Regions from separate parts of the Homo sapiens genome. Here region 1 is linked to region 2. The links are contacts of gene promoters, found by promoter capture Hi-C in blood cells and fetal thymus (Javierre and others, 2016). All regions are on one chromosome and are shown on one strand. The core of a region is centred on a gene start or on the middle of the fragment in contact, and the rest is flanking DNA. Distances in the headings are between cores, read along the strand shown. Region 1 overlaps LSM14A (LSM14A mRNA processing body assembly factor). Region 2 holds the start of GPI (glucose-6-phosphate isomerase).

The links. The method cuts DNA at HindIII sites, captures the fragments that hold promoters and counts their contacts. A CHiCAGO score of 5 or more calls a contact.
Region 1: a fragment that was not itself captured here is called in contact with the fragment with the promoter of GPI in region 2 in 1 of 17 cell types (naive CD4 T cells); the score reaches 6.6 in naive CD4 T cells.

Annotation. Positions count from the first base shown.
Region 1 is chr19:34,176,546-34,179,245 of GRCh38, reverse strand. The region is part of intron 1 of LSM14A (LSM14A mRNA processing body assembly factor); the gene reads right to left. Among named protein-coding and RNA genes, the nearest start is that of LSM14A, 5.4 kb to the right of the region's middle. The HindIII fragment of the contact is 8,937 bases long and covers 1-2,700 here.
Region 2 is chr19:34,363,773-34,366,560 of GRCh38, reverse strand. It overlaps GPI (glucose-6-phosphate isomerase), which reads right to left and starts at 1,365. Exons shown (of 18, transcript NM_000175.5): 1 at 1,173-1,365; 2 at 126-216. The coding sequence starts at 1,294. RefSeq lists an enhancer at 1-291. The HindIII fragment of the contact is 4,651 bases long and covers 1-2,788 here.

The sequences.
Region 1 (2,700 bases), core at 53-2,552, 190 kb after region 2:
AAGAAATCTGTTAACAATTTACTTGTTTTTCTATTCTTCCACCAATCTCTTGATTTTAAGAACAACTTATTTTAAAGGCAAGTGGCTTATATAATCGTTCTTCATAAAGTCTCTTTTCCCAGTGCAGTAGCAACCTGGTTTCCATTTGAATGATTATCCAGGTAAGCTAACTAAATGTAAGAATTTATTTTTTATAAGAATTTCATTCATTTTAGCCTATTTAGGCATCCTACTCACTTATAGACGTAGGTGCAAACACAACTGGAACTATTCCATAAAATATTCATACATGTCACCACTGTGTAATTTCTTCCTACACCCTGAATGGAGGCTTCCTTTAAACTTTAAATGAAAATTATAATTGAGCTTGAGTCACAAAGAGTTTACCTCCCCAATAATGTTAATTATGTCACTAGATTTCATCCTCTTGCATCCCTACTCACTGAAATTCTTCAAGATTTCTTAATGTGAGGCAGGATAATTTAATTTTATAGGGAAATGCAATTGTGAACATGGAAAAGCATTATTTGGAGGTATACCCAAGATACTTCTACAAGAACAATAAGCTAAAATGCTAAATCATTTCCATTTACTCACTAACTAAACAACCTTTCATACCAGGAGCTCAGAGTCTGGAGGTGAAGGGGAAGGTGAAGACAGACAATAAACACATATGCAAATAAGCAAAGAAGATTAAGTGTAAGTCATGATCAGTGCTGAGAAGAAAATAAATTCAGAGCTGTGACACAGACTACAAACTGCAACAAACTGCAGAAACAAACTGCAACACAGATCATCTATAAACATACATAGCAGATTGACATCAAAGCCTTTCTAGGTTGCCTTTATGACTTCTTGACATATGCTTAGGTTCCGAGGATCAAAGCCCCTCAAACTTACCTGTTTCACTTTCTAGAACTAAAGCTAGTCTGTGACATCTCTAGCAGAAAATAAGGCACATCGACCATTTCACAGCACCTCTGCAATTAGGCTTTTGATTATGTGGTGTGATAACTTATCCACACTGAAACATTTTCAAAAGAGAAAACAGATTATTATTATTATTTTGTGTTTTTTTTTTTTTTGAGACAGAGTCTCGCTCTGTTGCCCAGGCTAGAGTACAGTGGTGTGATCTTGGCTCACTCTAACCTCCGCCTTTCAGGTTCAAGCAATTCTCCTGCCTCAGCCTCTCAAGTAGCTGGGATTACAGACATGCACCAGCACGCCCAGATAATTTTTGTATTTTTAGTAGAGACGGGGTTTCGCCATGTTGGCCAGACTGGTCTCGAGCTTCTGACTTCAGGTGATTCGCCTGCCTCAGCTTCCTGAAGTGCTGGGATTACAGGCTATCATTGTTATTTTTTAAGACAAGGTCTTGTTCTATGTTTCAGGCTGGAGTGCAGTGGCATGATCACAGCTCCTCTTGGGCTCAAGCAATCCCCCTGCCTCAGCCTCCCAAGTGGCTGGGACGACAGACATGCATGCCACCATGCTTGGCTAATGCACTTTTTAAAATTTTTTGTAGAAATGGAGTCTCCCTGTATTGCCGAGGCTGGTTTTGAACTCCTGGGCTCAAGCAATACCCCGGCCTTGACCTTTTGGAAATGTTGGGATTACAGGCCTGAGTCACCCTGCCCAGCCGGGATGTTTTTAATAATTATGCCAGAGCAGGCACAAACAAGGACTTTCCACCAGGGCAAACTAGGCCATATGGTTACCCTAATTATATACCACATCAAATGTAAATAGCCAAAAATTTCAAGAGTAGTTTATAGTTCCAGATATATTTAAATTATAATATCCAAGCCCTAAATTATAATATGGACAATATAAACCAAGTGAATCCCTTACTAAATATAAAGCTCTGAATATCTCACATTGTACACAAAATCAATTTCAGATGCATTATAAACGTCAATGTGAAAAAGCAAAGCACAAAAAGGTTTAAAGATAATCAAAGTATCTCTATGATGTTTTAAAAAAAGAAACACTAGCCATAAAAAACTGATGAACATGTTTACATTAAAATGAAGAACTTCTGTTAATTTAAAGAAACTACTAAATGGAAAAAATGTTTGCAATATATACATCCAACAATGGAGATATATTCAGAATACAGAACTCTAGAAAAAGACGTGTTTCGATTTAAAAAAGGAAAAGATTTCAAAGGCATTTTATGAAAAATGAAATCCAAACACCCAGATATGAAAAGCTGGTCAGCCCCATTTAGTAATGAGGGAAATGATTAAAACTAAATACAACTACATACCCACCAGGATTGGCTAGAATTGAAATATATGATACCACGTACGGTTGTTGGTAAGGGATATGAAACAAGAACTCTTACATACTAATAAATGAAGTAAAAACCACTAAACAACTACTTTGAAAAACTACCTGGCATTACCTGATAAAGACCAACATTCCCCATGTTCTTGCAATTCAAATTCTAAGTATATAATCTCAAGAAAACGAAATAAACATGCACCAGTGCACTTAAACAGAAATGTTCATAAAAGCATTGTTTATAATAGCCCCAAACTGCAAACAATCTAAATGCAATATCCAAAACAATGGCAGAAGGAATAAACTTGTGTTATATTCATGATGGAATATTATGAAACAATAAAAGCTAAAAATAAAATATATACAACACAATCCTATTTACATAAAGTTAAAAATGGGCAAAATTAAACTCTA
Region 2 (2,788 bases), core at 116-2,615:
AGGAGGTGACTGAGGTCTAATGAGAGGAAGAACTCAAGATACTCAAGGTCCTGGGGACTCCCAGGAGCCCAGCTCACCCACCACTCTGTCGGTTACCAGTTATGCCTCCCCAAGCAGAACATTACCAAGTCCACCAGCATCCGCATCACGTCCTCCGTCACCAGGTTCTTGGAGTAATCCACCAGGATATGCCCATGGTTGGTGTTGAGGGTCAAGCTGCAGAAAGATGGAGATGCTGCTGACCACACCCTGGTCTCCCTAGCGGGGAGCCATGCCCTAAGCAGGAGCTGTTCCCAGAAGAAACATCCTCCCTGACCCACGCCCCACAAGGGCCGCGGCCACCCAGCACAGTGGTGGTGTCTGTCACCTGCTGGCCCACCAGGATGATCTGCAACAGCAGCCCAGAGAAAGAAGCCATCCTCACAGACCGTAGATGCAGGCAGACCCTGGATGAGGAGCCCGGACTGAAGTGGGGGACCACCCCTTCCCAGGGCTTCCACTTTCTGCCGTAAGTTACTCAGGCACCCATCCAGATGACAGGGATGGCCATCGGGACGTCTAGCCCGGAGCCACAGTCGCTCCCCTCCCCCGCCTCCACCAGTATCAGTGATCAGAGCTCCCTTGGCCGCACTCCCGCCCATGATTTGCTCAAACACTCCTTCCCACTTCCCGGTCGTGCACAGGTGTCTTCTGCAGGAATCACGCCCGACGTCTCCATCCTTCCACCCAGCTCCCTCAAACACCCCCGCCCGGGCTGCCCGCCCTGCAGACGCTCCCAAGCTCATGTGGCCAGGAGCGGATGGAAAGGGACAGCCCTTTCCCGCTTGCTGCGTCAGCCAAGGCCTCTCTTCACAACTGCGAAAGGAGCCCCTGCTCAAATGGCCAGAGCTGCACGGGGAGGAGGAGGGGAAATGTCCCCACGGAGGGGCCCGTTTTTCCTCGTAACGAAGCAGACCCGGGGCCGAGACTCCCGGCGAGGCTGCAAGCCCCCAGGAACGCACTCCAAGGAGACTCCAAGGACGAAGTGCGGACTCGGCCTGGGCCCCAGTCCGTGGCCTGGAGGTCGGGGACTGGGGTCCCCGGGCACCGCTGCCCCCGCCTCCAGACCCCAGGCCCGCGTGCCCGGTTCCGGGCGCCGCGCGTGGCAGCCCCCGCCTCCGGCCCGCCCGCACCTGAAGTGGTTGAAGCGGTCCTTGTTGGCATCGAAGAGGCGGCGCAGGTTCAGCTCGGAGCGGTGCTCGCGGTACCATTGCTGCAGCTTCTGGAACTGGGGGTCCCGGGTGAGAGCGGCCATGGCGGGACTAGAAGGTACACTGAGTGAGACGCGAGCCGAGGAGGAAGGAGCGCCGGCAGCGCGCAGCAAGCGAGGCGCGTGGGCGCGCGGCGGCCTTTATGGCGCAGGCGCCCGGCCCGGCCCGGCCCGGCCCCACCCCTGAGCCCCGGCCCCGCCCCCGACCCGCGCCCCGATACCCAGGCCGGGTGCCCGCTGAGCGACCTTGCCCGCGGCCGCTGATCTGGGGCCTCAGCTCCTCTCTCCCTACCTCTTGCGCCGCCGCTTTGCTGGCCTCTGCCCGGAAGTGGCAGTGGGGAGGGTGGGCAGAGCCCGGGGATCACTGGAGCCCAGGTGTTGGAGGCTGCAGAGAGCTACCATCGCGCCGCTGCACTCCCTGTGCACTAGTCGGCTTCATTCATTCATTCGACAAAACTCTATAGATCGAACACCTTCCACGTTACAGGCAGTGTTCTAGGCGCTGTGGATACATATGTGCCAAATAAGCAAGTACAACAGATGATGTGTGTCTGCTGGTGGTAAGGGCTATTGAGGAAAACCAAGATGAAAAGGGTGCTGAGAATCGGGGTTGCAATTAAGAAAAAAGTGACTAGGCCGGGCGCGGTGGCTCACGCCTGTAATCTCATCACTTTGGGAGGCCGAGGCAGGCGGATCATGTGAGGCCAGGAGTTCCAGACCAGACTGGCCAACCTGGTGAAACCTCATCTCTACTGAAAAAAAAAATGCAAAAATTAGCCGGGCCTGGTGACACGTGCCTGTATTCCCAGCTAACTCGGGAGGCTGAGGCAGGATAATCACTTGAACCTGGGAGGTGAAGACTGCAGTGAGCCACTGTACTCCAGCCTGGGTGGCAGAGTGAGACTCCATCTCAAAAAAAAAAAAAAAGATGAGGTCAGAGAGCAAAAGGGAGGCAACAAGATCACGTAAGACCTTGTAAGTCATTGTAAGAACTCTGGGGCTGGGCACTCCTGCCTATAATCCCAGCACTTTGGGAGGTGGGATAGCTTGACGCCAGGAGTTCAAGCCGAGCCTGGGCAAGACAGCAAAACACTGCTTCTAAAATACTAAAAATAAATTAGCGGGGCATGTGGTGGTGCATATCTGCAGAGTCCCAGCTACTCGGGAGGCCAAGGCAGGAGGATCACTTGAGTCCAGGAGTTAGAGGCTGCCGTGATTACCACCACTGTACTCCAGCTTGGGTGACACAGCAACACCTTGTCTTAAAAAAAAGAAAAGAAAAGAAAAGAAAATAGGGAAAGGCTGACAACAAAAGAAATAAGTGGTCACTGAGGGGTCACAGGACTTTCCAGGGAACAGCCCTGTCCACATGGCCCTTTTCTAAGAACTGTCAACTCTTAAGATTTCACTGAGCTTCCACACCTAGCACAACCCTGGTAGTGCTGAACAGTATCTGTTCTACTGGAGTTCTTTTTTTGTTTGTTTGTTTGTTTGAGATGGAGTCTCGCTCTGTCACCAGGCTGGAGTGCAGTGGCGTGA